Linked DNA regions of Homo sapiens: region 1 is linked to region 2. The links are contacts of gene promoters, found by promoter capture Hi-C in blood cells and fetal thymus (Javierre and others, 2016). All regions are on one chromosome and are shown on one strand. Each heading gives the region's core, a stretch centred on a gene start or on the middle of the fragment in contact. The rest is flanking DNA. Distances are from core to core; before and after follow the strand shown. Region 1 overlaps SYNE2 (spectrin repeat containing nuclear envelope protein 2). Region 2 holds the start of MTHFD1 (methylenetetrahydrofolate dehydrogenase, cyclohydrolase and formyltetrahydrofolate synthetase 1).

Region 1 (6,782 bases), core at 1,403-3,902, 530 kb before region 2:
TTTTTCATTATTATATTTTTCATTACTTATATGTTTTAAATATATATTTTCAATAATTTCACAAAGTTATTTATTCATTTACTCAAACTCCTACATATACCAGCCACTGTGCTGGCTTCTGGAGATCTGAATAATAATAGTTACTCCTTATAGAATGCTTATTTTATACCAGTAGATATTTTACATAGATTACCTTTTTACCTTTTTCATCTATAAGTATTTATTGAGTACCTACAATGTATTGTGCTGGGTGTTGGGGCGATAGTGGTGCACAAGACAGTCGTGATTCCTGCCCTTATCTAGGTGGGGAATCTAGGCAGGAAATAAAATATATTGCTAAACTAATAGCAGCTTTTGAAAGGTAAATCATATCACATCATTCTTCTGTTCAAAACCCTCCATTGGCTTCCTATGTCTCTCTGAGTGAATGGCAAAGACCTGACAGTGGCTCCCAGAACAACCTCTTTTGGCTTCCCTGCCTCTCCATGCTGTGACTTTCCTATCTTATCTGTTGCTCTCCTCCCTACTCGAGTGTCTACAGCCAAACCAGCTTTCTTGCTGCATGAGGGCCTTTGGACTTGTTGTGCGCTGCCTGGAATGACCCCCTGTCCCTAGCTCCCATATCTCTAATGGCTCTTGTTGATCTGACCCCCTTCACTTCTTTACTTGATGTTATTTTGTCAGTGAGCCTTCACTAACCTCCAAATTTAAAATCACAGCCATCCTCGCGACTCCCATTCCTCCTTTCATAAGTTGTTATTTTTCCTCCGTAGCACTTATGGCTATATCATATGTTGCTTGTTTATTGTCTGTCTTTTTCGGGAGATTTTATATCCTTCAGAACTGTATCACAGCTGTTTTATTCACTGTTACACCTTCAGAATCTGGAACGGTAACTGGCGTATAGCAGGTCCTCAATAACTTGAATGAGTGTTGAGTGGAAAGAAGGGTATAACAGAGTGCTGGGACATGGAATAACCAAGGCCTCCTAGAATACTGGTGAGAAGGCCTCTAGGTGGAAGTGACATTTAACTGAGACTTGAAGATGAGAAGGAGCTAGCCATGTTGTTGTGGCATAAGAGGTTGTAGAGAGGAGACAGGCATGGAAGAAGATCCGGCCGAGAGATAGGATGCTCAAAGGCCTCCAGGCAGGAAAGAGCTAGGTGGTGTGTGGATTTATTGGAACTGAGAGGTCATTGTGGCTGAGCACTGTCAAGTTAAGGGAGGGTAGGACTAAATGACAGGGTGGAAATCAGGTGTCAGATCATGCAGGGCCTTTCTGGAGAAATTAACATGGAATCCTCATATGTAGCCTATTAGCCCTTTTTATGGTTTAAGAAACTGGGCATCAGGGAGATTGAATAACTTTCTGAGATTATGCAGTAGGTGAGTGGCAGCGCCTAGAATACAAAGCCAGGCTCGCAGACTCTAACGAACCTGTATCTGACCACTATGTCAAAATCAAAAGACAGTCCCTGTCCTGGTGAAGCTGTTAGTCTAGTGGGAAGACAAGCTATTGCAGTATACACATGTGCTCCTGGGGGCTGTGGGAGGAGGGAAGCCCCTAGTTCTGCCTGGGAGTGGGACAGGCCAAATTGGAAACATACAATCATTTTTCCTTTTTTATTATTGTGAAATATTTCAGATTGGCAACATCTTAATTAAGAAATAATATTAAATACAATAGCCTATTCTCTGAGTCTTCACTGTATGTTCCCCTCCTTTTTTTCTTTTTAAAGACAAAATGCTTGCTTTCACATGTACAAAGGATCTGTGTCATAATGCCCCCTTTCCTACTTTCATCAAATAAAAGATTATGTCTGGAGTAGTGTAAATTCACTTATTTTATTTTTTTGAGACAAGGTCTCGTTCTATCACCCAGGCTGGAGTACAGTGGTGCGATCATGGCTCACTGTAGCCTCTACCTCCTGGGCCCAAGTGATTCTCCCACCCCGGCCTCCCAAGTAACTGACTACAGGTGCACACTACCATGCCTGGCCAACTGTGAATTTTTTTGTAGAGAAGAGGTCTCACCATGTTGCCTAGGCTGGTCTCCAACTCCTGGCCTCAAGTGATCCTCCCACCTCAGCCTCCCAAAGTGCTGGATTACAGGCATGAGTCTGCCCTTGGCCTCGTGTTTACATTTGAGAAGTTTTTGACTTATGTATAGACCTGTGGAACTGTCTCCCTGTAGCTCCTTGCTATACCCTGAATCCCTCTTCCTCATCCAGCCAATGATAGCTTTCTGTCTCTGTGGATTAGTTTGCGTTTTTTAGAATGTTATGTAAATGGAATCATGTAGTAAGTTCTCTTCTTTGCCTGGCTTTTGCTTAGCATAATTATTTTGAGACTCATCCACATTGTATCAATAGCTGATTTCTTTTTATTGTTAAGTAATACTCCATTGTACTGATAGACGCCAGTTCATGTATCTTTTCACCCATTGATAGACATTTAGGTTGTTTCTGGTTTTGGGCTATTAAAAATAAAGCTGCCATGAACATTATACACAGTCTTTGTATGCATATCTTTCATTTCCCCTGGGTAGATGTCTAGGAGTAGAATGACTAGATCCTATGGTAGGCATATGTTTAATTTTTCAAAGAACTACTATACTTTTCCAAAGTGGTTATATAATATAACCAAAATAGTCTATGAGGGTTCCAGTTGCCCCAGATCCTTGCCAACAGTTGGGGTGGTTAGGCTTTTATAGCCATTCTGTTGGGTGTGTAGTGACACCTCATTGTGGTTTTAATTTCCATTTCCCTGATGACTAATGATGTTGAGCATCATTTCATATGCTTATTTACCATCCATTTATCTTCTTTGTTGAAGTGTCTACTCAAATTTTTTGCCCGTTTTCTTGCATTGTTTTCCTTCTTATTGAGTTTTGAGAGTTCTTTGTGTATTCTGGATGCAAGTCATTTGTCACGTGTAAGATTTGCAAATATTTCCATTCAGTCTTATCTTAGTCCATTTTGTGCTGCCATTACAGAATACCATAGATTGGGTAATTTATAATGAACAGAAATTTATTGGCTCATGGTTCTAGAATCTGGGAAGTCTAAGATTGATGGGGCGACATCTGGTGAGAGCATTTTTGCTGTATCATTACATGACAGAAGGGCAAAGAGAGGGTGAGAAAGAAGCAAAATGGAGCTGTTTTATTATTTTTATTTTATTATTTATTTATTTATTTAAGACACAGTCTCACTCTGTCACCCAGGCTGGAGTGCAGTGACACAGTCTCAGCTCACTGCAACCTCTGCCTCCTGGGTTCTAGTGATTGTGGTACCTGGGATTACAGGTGTGCGTCTCCACACCGGCCTTTTTTTTTTTTTTTTTTTTTTTTTTTTTTTTGATTTTTAGTAGAGACAGGGTTTCACTGTGTTGGCCAGGATGGTCTTGAACTCCTGGCCTCAAGTGATCTGCCCACCTTGGCCTCCCAAAGTGCTGGGATTACAGGCATGAGCCACTGCACCCAGCCTATTTTTTTTTTTGAGACAGTATCTCGCTGTGTTGCCCAGGCTGGAGTGCAGTGGCTTGATCTCAGCTCACTGCAACCTCTGCCTCCCAGGTTCAAGCGATTCTCCTGCCTTAGCCTCCTGAGTAGCTGGGACTCCAGGTGCGTGCCACCACTCTCAGCCTGATTTATTCCTTTATAAGGAACCCACTCCTGCGATGATGGCATTAATCCATTAATGACAGCAGAGCCCTTATAACCTATCACCTGATAAAAGTTCCATCTCTTAATACTGTAATATTGTAACAGTATTGCCTCTTAATAATGTTACGATGGCGATTAAATTTCACCAGAGTTTTGGAGGGGACATTTAAACCATAGCAAATTTATTACATTCTCTTAACAATATCTTTTGAAGATACTGTTCTTAATTTTGATGAAGTACAATTTGTCAATTTATTCTTTATGGATTGTACTTTTGGTATTATTATCTAAGAAATCTGCCTAATTCAAAGTCAAAAAGGCTTTCTCCTATGATTTTTTTCTAAAATTTTTATAGGTTTTGGTTTAACATTTAGGTTCATGTACTTTAATTTTTGTTTATGGTGTGAATATGGGTGGAAGTTTACCCCACCTATGCCAGGAACATTTGGTAATTTTTGGAGACAGTGTCTGGAAACCATGTCTGGTGTAGGGACGAGGGGCATTTGTTCCCAGCCATCTACTGGGCAGAAGTCTAGGATGCTGCTAGATACCCTACAGTGGATAGGTGAGATCCTCTCAATAGAGAATTATTCAGCCAAAGTGTTAGTAGTGCCAGGGTTGAGACACTCTAGGCTTGAGGTTTATTAATTTTATTGAACTCCATGAACCAGCTGTTGGTTTCATTGATATTGTTTAATATTTTTCTATTTTCCCTTTGATTGATTTTCACTCAGATCTTTATTTTTCCCTTCTACTTTTGGGTTTAATTTGTTCTTATTCCAGTTTCCTTAGGTCATTGATTTGTGACTTTTCTTCTTTTCTGATATAGGTGTTTAGTCTTTTAAATTTATTCCTCAGTACTACTTTAGTGACATCTCACAAATTTTGATATGGTGTGATTTTATTTGTATTTAGTTAAAAATACTTTTAAAATTGGCTGGGCGTGGTGGCTCACACCTGTAATCCCAGCAGTTTGGGAGGCCAAGGCAGGCGGATCACGAGGTCAAGAGCTGGAGACCAGCCTGGCCAACATAGTGAAATCCCATCTCTACTAAAAATACAAAATTAGCTGGGTGTGGTGGCACATGCCTGTAATTCCAGCTACTTGGGAGGCTGAGGCAGGAGAATTGCTTGAACTCAGGGGGTGGAGGTTACAGTGAGCTGAGATCATGACGCTGCAGTCCAGCCTGGGCAACAGAGCAAGACTCTGCCTCGGGAAAAAGAGAAAACAAAGAAAGAAGCAAGTCACTATGTGCAGCCTGCACTAAAGGAGTGGACTCCACTCCTTTCCTCCCTCCTTTCTCTCTTTTCTTTCTCTCTCTCTTTCTCCCTTCTCCCCTTCCTTCCCTCCCTCCCTCCCTCCCTCCCTCCCTTCCTCCCTTCCTTCCTTCGTTCCTACCATCTGTCTGTCTGTCTAGCTTTGTTGCCCAGCTGGCTGGAGTGCAGTGGCACCATCTTGGCTCACTGCAACCTCTGCCTCTCTGGCCCAAGTGATCTGCCTGCTTTGGCCTCCCAAAGTACTAGGATTATAGGTGTGAGCCTCTGTGCCTGGCCTAGAAACTAATTTTCTTAAACTAAATCCACTAAATTATCATAGAGCAGACCATTGCTGTTATAGAAACATATTTTAGAATACTGCAGAGTATTACAATATTCAGAGCACCTGCACTTGGAGAACCCTCCCCTCCAGACAGGTTCTGCAGGGTGCACTGCCTCCTTTTCTTTCCTCTGGGCTGCATTAGGAGGAGGGAGGTGAATGGGGAGAAGGAATCAATCTTCCTGTGTTGACATTTTCCAGACCCTGAGAAACGTTGAGTTGAAAGATAAGTGTGAAAGCATCTCTTTCTTTTGATGGTGTGTGAGATGAAAAGCACTTGCTAATAGCCCCTCAGGTCAAAGTAACACATTTGACAAAAAGGAGCCTCAAGCTTTTGCTTGTCAGTGTCCATATTTGATTGGAAATTTCAATCTGAGATTTGGTGCTTGGATTTTCCTAGAATTTGCCAATTACTTGTTGCTCTGGTTCCAGCTGACTTTTAGTCTTCCTTTGGGTACTACCACTGGGTGCAGTTTGTTATCAGTGAGTAGCTCTTCTCTATCGGGCTGTGTAAATGTACCCCTATTTAATTCATTCAACAAATTATTTTTTAAATACTTATTGAATCTGGGCTCTGACACACAGGTAAAAGTCAATGTCTCTTGCCACTTGTAAGCTGTCTAGAAGCAGAAAGGCCCATAAGCAGAGGAACATGCAATCAGTGGGGTAATTGGTAGTCACTGCAGTGGAAACATGAGCAGGGCAAAGCATGGTCAGCTGGAGCAGTGGTTCTCAAAGTAGGGTCCAGGGACCAGGAGCAGCCAACCTATTGAGTATAACCTTGACAGTGGGGCCCAGCAATCTGTGTTTAATAAGCCTTCTAAGTGATTCTGATGCATGCTCCAGACTGTGAACCATGGGCATAGAGGATTAGACAATCTTTGAGATTTTTTCCAGCTCTTCAAGTCTATGCATATGGTTAAGAAATGTGATATTTACCACATTGTTTTTTTTTTTTTTTTTTGAGACGGAGTCTTACTCTGTTGCCCAGGCTGGAGTGCGGCGGCACAATCTCAGCTCACTGCAACCTTCGCCTCCTGGGTTCAAGCGATTATCCTACCTCAGACTCCTGAGTAGCTGGGATTACAGGTGCGCACCACCACGCCCAGCTAATTTTTGTATTTTTAGTAGAGACGGGGTTTCACCATGTTGGTCATGCTGGTCTCGAACTCCTGACCTCGTGATCCGCCCACCTCAGCCTCCCAAAGTGCTGGGATTACAGGCATGAGCCACCGTGCCTGGCCCTACCCCGTTGTATTTTAAGAGCATTAGTTGGCACTAATATCATATAAAACATTAATTGCAGTGTAGGCTGGGCACTGTAGCATATGCCTGTAATCCCAGCATTTTGGGAGGCTGAGGCGAGAGGATCACATGAGCCCAGGAGTTTGAGACCAGCCTGGGCAACATAGTGAGACCCCAATCTCAAAAAAAAAAATTAGCTGGGCTATGGTGGTGCATGTCTATAGTCCCAGGTACTAGGGAGGCTGAGGTGGGAGGATCGCCTGAGCCTGGGGG
Region 2 (6,887 bases), core at 301-2,800:
AACCTCAGAATTTAGAAATAAGAAAAAAATATTAAAAGCCCCAAAATTAATAAAAAATCAGTTTTAGGCCAGGTGCGGTGGCTCACGCCTGTAATCCCAGCACTCTGGGAGGCCGAGGCGGGTGGATCACGAGGTCAGGAGTTCAAGACCAGCCTAGCCAAGATGGTGAAACCCCGTCTCTACTAAAAATACAAAAATTAGCCGGGCGTGGTGGCGGGCTAATTAGGTGGTGCCTGTAATCCCAGCTACTCGGGAGGCTGAGGCAGAGAACTGCTTGAACCCGGGAAGCGGAGGTTGCAGTGAGCCAAAATCGTGCCACTGCACTCCAGCCTGGGCGACAGAATGAGACTCCGTCTCAAACAAACAAACAAAAAAAGTTTTAGATGAGCTCTGCCAGTAGTAAACGGCTTGTAAAAGAAACCCGGTATCTGGTCAAGTCCTAAGTGACCTGAACCACGCATCTTCAGGACTCTACTGGGATGACTGTAACCTGAACGCGGTTCCTAGAGCAGAGCAAGCATATTCCTTGGACTCAGTAACACAAGGGGCCAGTCCTCTCCAGCATCCCAGCTGCCACCGCCCTGTCAGGCTCCCCAGGCAATTGTCCATCTTACTCCTTCTCCAGCGTGGACGCTTAAGGGGAGGGAGCATCCCTCCTCGAGGGTCAACTGGCATGTAGCTTACGAAGACCGCGTGAGTTCTCCAACCCCAGACTTGCTGCGGGGCGGGGACGTGGGGGTGACAAAATCCAGACTACGACCCTCCATGAGCCCTGGCAACCCCGGGGTGACCCCAACACCGATGAGGCCACGCGCGCTCCAGCTCTGACACTCCTTCCAGATCGGCGGGGCCTGAAACAGCGGGCTAAGCTTCACCTACGGCTGAGCGTCAGATTCAGCTGAGGAGATTCTAAAAGCGCTATGCTGGGCCCAGACCCAGGCCCTCCAGAGCAGAACGCGGAGGGGCCCGACCCCAGTCTGGTGGCGTAGGTGTGTGACAAAGTATGAGGGCGCGCCAAGCTCTCCAGTTCCACATCTGCTGTCGAGTCCAGCGCCTGCCACGCTCCCGTGCGGGGACCCGCCCAAAACTCCCTGGAAGCCAGGCGATTCAGACCCCGCCACCGCGTCCCCAGAGACTGGGCGGAAACCGGAGACTCGCCTCCCGAACCCGCGAAACTATCTCCCGCGAGACTGCCCCGCCCCAACCCCGCCCCGCAACTCTACTCCCTGATTGGCTGGAATTACGGCCGGATTCCGGAGTCCTTTCCAGCTCCCTCTTCGGCCGGGTTTCCCGCCGAATACAAAGGCGCACTGTGAACTGGCTCTTTCTTTCCGCCAATCATTTCCGCCAGCCATTCATCACCGATTTTCTTCATCTTCCCCTCCCTCTTCCGTCCCGCAGTCCCCGACCTGTTAGCTCTCGGTTAGTTAAGGGACTCGGGTCCTTCCGAACTGCGCATGCGCCACCGCGTCTGCAGGGGGAGAAGCGGGCAGGGGCGCAGGCGCAGTAGTGTGATCCCCTGGCCAGTCCCTAAGCACGTGGGTTGGGTTGTCCTGCTTGGCTGCGGAGGGAGTGGAACCTCGATATTGGTGGTGTCCATCGTGGGCAGCGGACTAATAAAGGCCATGGCGCCAGCAGAAATCCTGAACGGGAAGGAGATCTCCGCGTAAGCACCTGACATTGTTGTTGAGTGTGGGGCTGTGGACGAGGGCTCTGAGGGTGTGCAGGTCCCCCGGACCCATTTTTTGCGGGAGGGACACTTGTAGCGGAAGAGTTAGGCCCATAACACCTGAAGACCTGCAGCCAAAGAAAGAGAACCCGGGCACAACCTGCGTTTGCAAGTGGACTGCCTAGTGGCTGTAGCCGCTGGCTCCTGTGCTTCGGGGAAAAGTCCTGTGCCGACTATGCTCCCAAACGCGCAGCTGCTGGTGACTTTCTGCCGGGAGAGTGGGTAGTTGCGGCTTCCTGGAGCCCCCCTAGTCAGAACTCAGAAATCCAATCTACTTAATTCCCGTTAATTTGGAGGTGAGTAGATGGAGACTAGTGAGGTGACAAGGCTTGACAAGACTACAAGGCTGATAATGACAGAGGGTCCTTCCAGCTCATAGCTTTTCCCACTATACCATAGTCTTATCATACGCTAAGTGAAATCTAATACATTTTTCCTTTCTCTTCAATCTCGTGCTTCTCTCTAACAGCCATCTCTCTGCCCTGGTCCTAGAGTTACTTGAAACGTAATTTGGCTCCTGAGTCCTGAGAATATTCTGCATTCCACTTGACCTCTGCCTGTTCTACCCTTGCGGGACATCTGAATGCTTAATTAGTGGGTATCGTTGCCAGCTTTACTCCCAGGAAGTAACACTGGCTGCTTTTTGTCTGGGAGGTGACTGGTGAGGAAAAATGAGAGTAGAAGGAAGAGGGAAAAATATATTCCCTCTAGTAGATGAAGGAGGGAAAGATATATTCTGTGTGACCTTACTGAGTTTGCTCTTGGGACCTTTCACATCACCCGTTATGTAAGTAACTGTTGCCAGCCACAGCAGTTACTAAATTGTAATTGTCCTGTAACTCCTAACTTTGTAATAGGTTTTTGAGTGAATTACAAAGTCATCGGTGGTGAAAAGTCCGGGCCCAGTGGCTCATGCCTGTAATCCCAGCACTTTGGGAGGCCGAGGTGGGTGGATCACCTGAGGTCTGGAGTTCAAGACCAGCCTATCCAAAATGGTGAAACCCCATCTCTACTAAAAATACAAAAAATTAGCCGAGTGTGGTGGCAGGCATCTGTAATCCCAGCTACTTGGGAGGCTGAGGCAGGAGAATCACTTGAACCTGGGGGGCAGAGGTTGCAGTGAGCTGAGATGCGCCATTGCACTCCAGCCTGGGCAACAAGAGCGAAACTCCGTCTAAGAAAAAAAAAAAAAGAAATCACAATACTTACTGCTTAGTGCTTTTCAACATGTGGCTTGCTAAACTGTATTTCTGCTTTACTTTCTGTTTTTGTTTGCTTGTATTCAAACTTACTTCCTTTTCCAGTGGCTTTTTGTTTTAATATAAAAATCTTCCTTTTAGAAAGACTGATTGTGAAGAGATAATTTAGTGCATAATAATAGTGCAGATAATTTAGTACAATAATAATGCATCTGGGCCAGTACTGAGAATAGGTGCTCACTGAATATACTTTCGTTAATTGGAGAGCAAATTAAATATGTTTATCAACTCCATAAGGGCAAATACATGTATTGTCTTATTTTTGTCTATATCCTAAACACCTGGAAACCCTGTTTCCTGCCTTACTACTTGTGTGGTTTTAAGCAAATTAATTAACCTTTCTGTGCCAAAGTTTCCTCAAATGTTAAGTAAAAGTAATGTCTAGGTCATTGGGATGTTAGTAGAATTAAATGGGTTCCTAACAGATGATCATTTATAATTCTTCCTGGCACATAATAAGTATTCGATATATGTTGTATTAATAATCAGTAATTAGTTAATGTATATATGAATGATTCATTATCTTTTTTTTTTTTTACATGGTAGCTGCTGCCTTGAGATCTATTTTTTTTTTTGAGATGAAGTCTTGCTGTGTCCAATCTTGGCTCACTGCAACCTCTGCCTCCTGCATACAAGCAATTCTCTCATATCAGCCTCCTGAGTACCTGGGATTACAGGTGCCCGCCATCACGCCTAGCTAATTTTTTTTTTTGAGATGGAGTTTCACTCGTCGCCCAGACTGGAGTACAATGGCGTGATCTCGGCTCACTGCAACCTCTGCCTCCTGGGTTCAAGCGATTCTCCTGCCTCAGCCTCCCAAGTAGCTGGGATTACAGGCGTCCGCCACCATGTCCAGCTAGTTTGTTTGTTTGTTTGAGACAGAGTTTCACTCTTGTTGCCCAGGCTGGAGTGCAATGGCATGATCTTGGCTCACTGCAACCTCCACCTCCCAGGTTCAAGCGATTCTCCTGCCTCAGCCTCCCGAGTAGCTGAGACTACAGGTGTGTGCCACCCCGTCCGGCTAATTTTTGTATTTTTAGTAGAGACGGGCTTTCACCATGTTGGTCAGGCTGGTCTGTAACTCCTGACCCCATGTGATCCACCCACCTCGGCCTCCCAAAGTGCTGGGATTACAGGCATGAGCCACTGCACCGGTCCTAGAATTTCTTAAAAATCCAGCCCACTTCCCACATTCCATCCTGCGGATTAGGAAATCATTTGAGGCCAGAAAAGTGATGTGATTTGTCCAAGGGTGAATGGCAATGGCTCAACTAAAACTAAGGTCTTCACCCAGTATATGATGTTTTTCATTCTAACCAGCACTTACTACTTGCTAAAAGGAATTTCGTAAGCTTTTCTTTTTCTTTTCTTTCTTTCTTTCTTTTTATTTTTCAGACAAGGTCTTGCTCTGTTGCTCAGGCTGGAGTGCAATGGCACGATGTTGTCTCACTGTAACCTCCACTTCCTGGGTTCAAACGATTCTCCTGCCTCAGCCTCCCAGGTAGCTGGGACTACGGGCATGCACTACTATGCCCGGCTAATTTTTGAATTTTTAGTAGAGATGGGGTTTCGCCATGTTGGTCAAGCTGGTCTTGAACTCCTGACCTCAAGTGATCTGTCCACCTCCACCTCCTAAAGTGCTAGGATTACAGGTGTGAGCCACTGCGCCCCCGCTGGCGCTTTGCTTTTTCTTTACAGTCTTCCTCTCATTAGCATGTTTCCCACCCTGCTGAGAATGCTATCCCTGACTCGTCCTCTTCTATTATTATTCTCCTTTTATGCCTTCCTGGGAGCTCGGACATCAACAAAGTTCAGCATTCCAGATTCCTTCTCTACCTGCTCTACTCTGTGGGAAACTGGGTACTTACATGATGGATTTAGTTGCCAAATTATCTTTCTTTGGAAGTAACAGCCCCTTTTCTCCCTCACGGGGAATTCTAAGTTTGCAGCCTGAATTTGACAACCGGGGGAAGGTCTGAGAGTTAGAGACAAGTATCTGTTCTTTGTGGGTATTTATTCACTTACTCAACAAGTAGCTGTATGTGTCCCCTAAGCCAGGCAATCTTCAAAGCTCTGAGAGTCTAATAGTGAACAAAACAGCCCAAATCCCTACCCTCATGAAACTTGCATACTGATGGGTAGAGACAGACATTTAAATAGGTGAAACACATTGTGAGCTGGTGGGAAGCACAAAGAGAACACCAGAGCAGAAAAGAGGGACAGGAGTTTCTGTGGTATGGTGGCTGCAATTTTAAATATGGGAGTCATAGTCTTTGTAAAAGTGACTTACGGGCAAAGACTTGAAGGAGGTGGAGCCTTAAGCCTGCCAATGTTGTGAGGGAAATAGCTCCTGACCAAAAACACAGCCTGTGCCATAGACCTTTGTCCTCACCAGTTACTAACTTACTGCTTTGGGGGGTCAATGGCAATGGCCCTGTGAGAAGCTGACCGAGTGGAGGCTCCTGAGTAGAGGAACCTGACCCTGCCCTGGGCAGAAGGGTGGTGTCTTTTAAAAGATTATGCAAAGTGGGAGAAGGATGTGCATTAGTGTTGGAAGACCCACCTTGCTTTGTAGGCAAGAAAGCATAGTTGTTCTATAAGTGGGCCTTTCAAAGGGGGGCTTACTACATTTATATGATTTGTTTGGTTTTTCCTTCCCTTAGTTTGCTATAATTAAGCCTGCTCTCTCCATTGGTGGCATTTTTCTTGATTAAGTCTCCTTTCTAAAGAGACTGGTTGTGAAGAGGCAGATGGTTTGAGTAGGTGCTGCGAGTGTTTGCTGGCCAAGTGCAGGGCAAGTTGGGTATATTTGTAAGCTCGCTGTGGATGGTAGCTCCAGAGCCTAAGCACGGTGCTGCCTCCTCTGTGCATCACTGGGTCATGCAATTTACCTCTGTGCCTTAGCTTCTGTATATTGGGGTAGTAATGTCACCTAACTCATAAGGTTGTTAGAATTAAATGAGTTTAATACCTATAAAGCATTTAGAGAAGTTGTTGGTACATGGTAAGTTTTAATAAATAGGTACTTAGAAAGTACTCATTGAATAAAAAAGTGATGTTTGTGTTTATCCAGGCTGTACCTTTGGGAGCTGGCTTATAATCTTGAGACTTAAAATTAGAATTTATCCTAGTGATCAAAGATAAAAGTTTGGAACCTTGGCTGTACATTTAGCTACAGGGCTAGAAGAACTGTTTTTGTGAAAATAATTTGCTTACCATAGTGAAGGGCAGGTCTTCTTGGTTACTAAGTTAACATGGATAAGACTTTTACTTTGTCCTGTAGATTAAATACATGTAGGCCCTTTTGTGCTTAAAAAGATTTGTCTGGGCAGGGCGTGGTGGCTCATGCCTGTAATCCTAGGACTTTGGGAGGCCCAGGCAGGAGGATCACCTGAGATCAGGAGTTGGAGACCAGCCTGACTAACATGGTGAAACCCCATCTCTACTAAAAATACAAAATTAGCTGGGCATGGTGGCCCATGCCTGTAATCCCAGCTACTCCAGAGGCTGAGACAGGAGAATGGCTTGAACCTGGGAGGAGGAGGTTGCAGTGAGCCAGTGAGCCAAGATGGCGCCATTGCACTCCAGCCTGGGCAACAAGAGCAAAACTTCATCTCAGAAAGAAAAAAAAAAAAAATTTGCCTGTAATGAACTCCAAAGTGCAGGTTGCTCAAAAGTTACATGGAAACTTGACTGTCATAGCTGGATTGATTCTGGAAGCCTGTGCAGGAGAGGTCGGAGTTCCAGAGAGGCTGGGACCTTCAGCTAGGACCCCAGCCAGGCTGTTGGGCAGGTTGCAGCGATAGTGCAGCAGAGCCCAGAGCTGGCAGCCAACTACTATGGTCATGGCACCTGATTGGGGATGTGGTTTGCAAATAAGTGTCTGTCCTTGTCCATCA

What was found. Contacts are between HindIII fragments. The CHiCAGO score rates a contact against its expected background, and 5 or more counts as called.
Region 1: a fragment that was not itself captured here is called in contact with the fragment with the promoter of MTHFD1 in region 2 in 1 of 17 cell types (fetal thymus); the score reaches 5.0 in fetal thymus.

Annotation. Positions count from the first base shown.
Region 1 is chr14:63,854,935-63,861,716 of GRCh38, forward strand. All of the region lies in intron 1 of SYNE2 (spectrin repeat containing nuclear envelope protein 2), which reads left to right. Among named protein-coding and RNA genes, the nearest start is that of SYNE2, 5.3 kb to the left of the region's middle. The HindIII fragment of the contact is 5,881 bases long and covers 1-5,593 here.
Region 2 is chr14:64,386,803-64,393,689 of GRCh38, forward strand. MTHFD1 (methylenetetrahydrofolate dehydrogenase, cyclohydrolase and formyltetrahydrofolate synthetase 1) reads left to right here and starts at 1,551. Exons shown (of 28, transcript NM_005956.4): 1 at 1,551-1,666. The coding sequence starts at 1,626. RefSeq lists enhancers at 614-713, 734-793, 1,314-1,403, 4,501-5,234, 5,235-5,968 and 1 more. The HindIII fragment of the contact is 3,471 bases long and covers 868-4,338 here.